Regions from separate parts of the Homo sapiens genome. Here region 2 is linked to region 1. Evidence: promoter capture Hi-C in 16 types of primary human blood cells and fetal thymus (Javierre and others, 2016). All regions are on one chromosome and are shown on one strand. The core of a region is centred on a gene start or on the middle of the fragment in contact, and the rest is flanking DNA. Distances in the headings are between cores, read along the strand shown. Region 1 holds the start of BCLAF1 (BCL2 associated transcription factor 1). Region 2 has its middle 39 kb from the start of HBS1L.

Region 1 (2,877 bases), core at 295-2,794:
AGGGAAGTCTGTATAACTTCCACTTACTAAAGGCTTTGTTCCAAAGGATCTCCTTTGTTACTACCTCATGTTATGTAAATAAAATCATAATCAGTTATATTGCCTCAAATAGATACTTCATTTTCAACACATGTGCAATAGAATTGCAGAGGGAGGTCGAAGATAATATCCTAGCCTGCAATTTGGGGTATTTTGAATAAATGAATAACAGCATGTATTGGGAGCGCCCCGACTCCCAATACATGCAGAATAGCAGACGTGTATTGAGCCCTTAGTTGTTTTTTTTTTAAATATAGTTCATTCACTCAACAAATATTTCTGAGAACCTGCGAATGCTTGGGACATCAGGGCACAACAAAAAGGCCAAGGATTTCTGTGTCCACATCCTGAGGTGGTAATGGGGTGAGGGACAGACTGTACAATAAAAAACCTACGATTCACTCCATGAAAATGTTGTCGTTTTTCTAGTTCAGCTGGTAAACTGGACTGTGAAGAAAGAATGCTCTAAGCACAGTGTTAAATTCACAACCAGGGCCCAATCCTAGTTTCGATTCACTCACTGACACCCTGGTTGCTAATTACAAGTCTGAAATCCATCAAGGTAGTTAACATCTCTAAACATCAAAGCAATAGCGGTTTTAGGCCCTAAGAAAGTGCAGCCCGGAGAAGTATTAATGCAAAATGTGCTACGGCTGTTATTTAAATTCTATTCAAATCGAATGTGGCTTGCCTATTTATAATCTGACTTATAATTCTGGACAACCAAGCTACGTTGGGCTGTGTTCCTCGGCTGCCACAAATCATCGTCACAGGCTGAAAGCTCAACTGCTTCGTGCTCTTTATTTTTTCATGCCTATGCCAACGTTGCCGATGTGGTAAAGCTGTCATCACGCCGCCAGAAGGGCGGCCTTCTTTGGCACGAGCAGCCTAAGAGGTTTCCGGCTGCTGCGGCTTGAGCTCCGATTTGATCAGACGCCACGAAAGGGATTTAGATCGTGGCCATTTTTCAACTAAGTGCGTCTGCCGAATTTAATAGCAAACCAAAAGCCACATTTTCTAATCTCCAGTTAGGCGTCCAAGAGGAAAAGTGGCGCTTGCTGGCTGAGGGAGCAGCGTGTCTGCAATTACAGCCACGTCTTGCCTCCTGGTCTTTTCCTCAGTGTGGGATTGTCTTTTTGTTTTTTGCCTGGTCTGAGCCGGCCCCACAGAAAGAACAGACCAGACGAGCTTACTGAGGTAAAACGCAGGGGCGGCGGTGAGGTCTAGGGGGTCTACTCAGAACGAGGCAGAGACACCAGCGAAAAGCGCCGTATGGCGAAGCTAACTCAGGCCTGACAAAACACCCACCCTACTCTACCGCCTCTCCGGCCAAGGCTGACGCTACGGGCCAGAGGGCGGAGCCGTCACATCTTCCCGCGAGACCAGCCACGCGACTTCCCAGAAGGCCGCAGGCAACATCTTAATAGCAGCCAGGAAGCCGGACCGGAGCGGAAGGGTGGGCGGGGCTTGCCCGCATATTTAGCGGCACCCGAGGCCACGCCCCAGATCGGAAGTGACGGAGACGTGCTAGCGCGTCGAAGGTAGCTCTATGGTTTTCCTCGCGTTCTTGAGTCGGGAAATGGCCGCTGTGTGGTTGCAACGGAGATAAATTCCCGGAACCGCGATTCGGCGTGTCAGGTAGGCCTCGCAATGTATTCAAGTTACTCCAGGGGCAGTGAAGACCGAGGACAGGCCATATTTTTGACTCTTTTGTGGGTGGTGTCGGGTTGGCGGCGAAAGGAGAACCAAGGAGACGTTGCGCCGTTATTTATGCGTTTTTTCGTTAGCTTCTCTCAGGTTTTCGAGGCACTACGGGCCGAAAAGGCCGGGCGGGGGCGCTGAGCAGTGCTAACGGCGGGCGCGCGCGTGTTTGCGAACCTGCCTGGAGACCCACAGCCCGCGCGGCCTCCCGTGCGCGTGCGCATATCTTCCTCTTCCACCCTTCCCCCATTTCTTCAGCCCGTACCTCTGCGCGCGCCCGACTGAACGCTCCGCGCACGCGCGCTCGTTCATTTTTCTCTCCCCCGCCTATGGCGCCGACGGCCGCTGGAGGTGCAACTTGTGTCCGCCTCTCATTGGCTGGGACTGCCACCTTTCTTCGTGGCCTGTGGGGTTTTGAGAAAATAACTGTGACCCGCAGCAAAGTGCGTTGAGTAGGTCTACCCCTTTTCGCGTGGTCTTTAAAACTGCCCTCCGGCTTCAGACCACCCGTCAGTTAATGCCTCGTTTTTGTGATGCTACTAGGTTTTAGTGCTCTGTTCTGCCTCTCGCTGCTGACCCTGGTTCTCTGGAGTTAATTTCGGTACCCGCGGCAACCTGCTGTTTTGAAGCGAGCGCGCGCTGTTGACTGGTGCTGGTTGCCTAGTTACGGTTCCCTAGCGAGAGGATTGGGTCTTAGCTGGTGGTTCTGAGCGTGGCCCTGCCCCATCCGGCTGAAAGTGCGGTTCTTCATGAGTACTAGCGAAGCCGAGTCTTTTCAAGTGATTCAGCCCATTTAGTCGTGTCAGAAATGTTGCAGCCACGATTGGTGGACAGCTGGTGTGAGAAATGGGTGGGAGTGGCGAATTGGACTTTGCCTTCATTTTAAATTCATGAGTTGGCTTGATTCGCTTTTAAGATTTATTTCTTCAGAATCAAGCTGAAGTACCAGCAGCTACTTTGCTACCTCAGACTTTTTTAAAAAGCATTTTAGAACTGGAAACAAATTAAGACTGAAGTTGAAAGCAAGTGTGGCTAACACTGACGAAAAAGATGAGCTACTTCAGACTTGTACCTCACTGCAACAGCCTCTTTTAAATTTTTTGGTGTTACAAAGCAAAACAAAATTTCTTGTTCCTC
Region 2 (2,796 bases), core at 25-2,524, 1.2 Mb after region 1:
GCAAGGACCAGGCAAGGGAAGCAATCTGGTGTTTGGAGGCTAGGCTTTTGCTATTTCTTTAGAGTATATTAAATTTTTTCCTAATTCAGAAATTGTTAGCATTTTAAAACATAAACCCAATTATTTAATGGAGAGTTCAGTTGTATCCAACCTACCTATCAGATGAATTCACCCATTAAAGAACAGGTATAGTAGTGAGAATAGCTGAAGTGGTTAGTGTCTCAGGAGATTCTCAGCCCCAGGCCAGGCCATTTTCACTTAGAATATAACCATAATCATGCACATGTCAAAACTCATTTACTGTAAAATTGATATTGGTTTTGAAATCAGTTAATACTCATTTAAGTAAAGGCAGTGAAAATATCGCAAAGACTTTTCCCTCCCACCTTTTACTTCTCTCTCTTCCTTTGCTTACCTTCACAGGCTCAGTGTTGGAAAAACATTGAAATAGCATTGTTTAGCAATATCTTTTACAATTCTATTTTACAGTTGATGAGAAATTTTAAAAATCTTATTCTTTCAAAAAGTGATCTAGAATGGAAACTCAAAAGACATCCTGTATTACAAAAATGTAACCAAGTCTAATGTTAGACCTGAAAAGCTCAGAGTATTTAATCTTATTTAACAATGGAATAAAAATCCAACAAAGCCTCAAGGGTTTTAAAAAATTGTTTTTGGAAATAAGAAAAGCTTAATTTAAGCAGTAAAGATAATTATCATGCTTAAAACAAATAAGTAGCAGTGAATCACCAAGACCCATTTTACTATGAGTCATAATGATATGTGGTCAGAGTCTTCAGTAGGTATACCTTTTTTTCTTTCTTCTTCTTCTTCTTTTTTTTTTTTTTTAAGAATACCCTTTGGTGGTTTTCTTCTTCCTCCAGATTTTTCATAATTTGGCATTGCTTTCTGGGGCTGAGACTTTTCATCTCTAGAAGATTCAGTACCCTATAAATAAAGTTCTTGTGGTTCACATGGTACAACAGGGCTGATCATATAGATGAGTCCCCTTCGGTGTCACCTACTCAGCTTCTTTCCCCACCCCATCCTGTCTCATGTGCAGACACATAAAATGTTCAGTTGATAAACAGGATGGCTTAAGGTAAAAGGTGAGAAGGAAAAAAAGGATAATATGAAGTGTTTTGAGGGTACAGGTATTATAACTGTTTTTTTTTTTTTGAGATAAGCTGTCACTCTGTTGCTCAGGCTGGAGTGTAGTGGCACGATCATGGCTCACTGCAGCCTTCAACTCCTAGGTTCAATCAATCCTCCTGCCTCAGCCTCCCAAAGTGTGGGATTACAGGCATGACCCACTGCACCCGGCTGAGATATTACATCTTCATATGCCCCTCTTGTGACTAGCACATTTACTCTGTCTCTAATAGGAGATCAGTAAAGATCTGTCAACAACGAGAATGAATGAATGAATGAGGGGTCCTCGAGAATGGTTTGCAGCCTCTTTTACTGCATCTGGGAAAGCAACTGAATTGAAAGAAAGTTATATATAAGGACATTGGAATAATAATAACATCTATTATAGTACTTTATAATAGCTATAAAACACTTTCACATGGTTTATCTCATTTGAACCTCACAAAACCCTTGTTAAGGAGGCAGATGTTATTATACATGGAAAAGATGACGATGTTTTCCTTCAATATATCACTTACAAAGCACCAGCCTGTGGGAGTGTTTGTCCCCTGGATAGCATATCATTAGTTGTGGTCACTGTGGTGAGCAACAAACCATTTTAAAGATTAGAACTGCACCAGTCTAAGGATGAAATAATTAATGCAACGAGTAGTCTTTATGTACACATGGACAGACTGGCGAGGAATGGGATGCGATAGAAGCTTATAAACTATTATGTAAATAACAGACATTTAATGAGAACTTACTGTATGCCAGGCACTTTGATAGGTCCCTTTTCGTACATTTTCCCCATTTAACGAATGAGGAAATTGAGACTCTTAGAGATTGAGTGACTTGCCCAAGGCCACAGAGTAAGTATATGCCAGGGGCAGAATTCTAATATCCAAAAAGTATAATAAAAGTTCCTATGTTGGCCAGGTGTGGTCACGCCTGTGATCCCAGCACTTCGAGAGGCTGAGGTGGGAGGACTGCTTGAGCCCAGGAGTTTGAGACCAGCCTGGGCAACGGAGTGAGACCTTGTGCCTAAAAAAAAAAAAAAAAAGTTCCTATCTTAAAGAGCTTGAAGGAAAAATCATGAATAACACACATCAGCAGATAAATATAGATGTGGCACAGAACAAACTCAATTGTTCAAATTAAAAATTCAAGCAGTGCACACTGCATGAGCTAAAGTGGTTGTTAAGTTCTTGAGAGAGGTCAAAAACTTAAACTTACCCTTGAAAGGTGAATAGGATTTGGACAGGTTGCGTGGAAGGGGAAGGTGTTTCAGGCAAAGTGAAATGCATCAGCAATTTGCAATACAAGTATGAGCATAACATAGTCAAGGGACAATATAAAGGGAAGATTTCCATGGTCATTCGCAATCACAATCTTGTATGATTTAGGGCATGGAGTTAGATATGTCAAAAAATTCAGAGAGATATTAGACGTGTTCTACAGAGAGTTAGAGGGGGATCAGTGGGGGCCATTGAAAACTGAGTATGTTGATAAAAGTTCCATGGAGGATCTAAATCTAGAGCTCAATTCAAATGAAATTTTAGACCTCACCTATGCATAGAGGGGAAAGAGAGACTGGGAGAATGCTCTTGGTAAAGTATGCTGGGTTTATGGTGTGTTTTGGTAGAAAACAACATTGCTATGGGC

Evidence for each region. Contacts are between HindIII fragments. The CHiCAGO score rates a contact against its expected background, and 5 or more counts as called.
Region 2: a contact is called between a fragment that was not itself captured here and the fragment with the promoter of BCLAF1 in region 1, in 1 of 17 cell types (fetal thymus). The highest score is 6.4, in fetal thymus.

What each region holds. Positions count from the first base shown.
Region 1 is chr6:136,288,513-136,291,389 of GRCh38, reverse strand. It overlaps BCLAF1 (BCL2 associated transcription factor 1), which reads left to right and starts at 1,544. Exons shown (of 13, transcript NM_014739.3): 1 at 1,544-1,677. LOC124901408 (a long non-coding RNA gene) reads right to left here and starts at 1,376. Exons shown (of 4, transcript XR_007059784.1): 1 at 1,233-1,376. RefSeq lists enhancers at 849-968, 1,289-1,508, 873-2,072, 2,019-2,138, 1,557-2,153 and 2 more. The HindIII fragment of the contact is 10,003 bases long and covers 1-2,877 here.
Region 2 is chr6:135,092,714-135,095,509 of GRCh38, reverse strand. No RefSeq gene overlaps it. Among named protein-coding and RNA genes, the nearest start is that of HBS1L, 39 kb to the right of the region's middle. The HindIII fragment of the contact is 1,163 bases long and covers 693-1,855 here.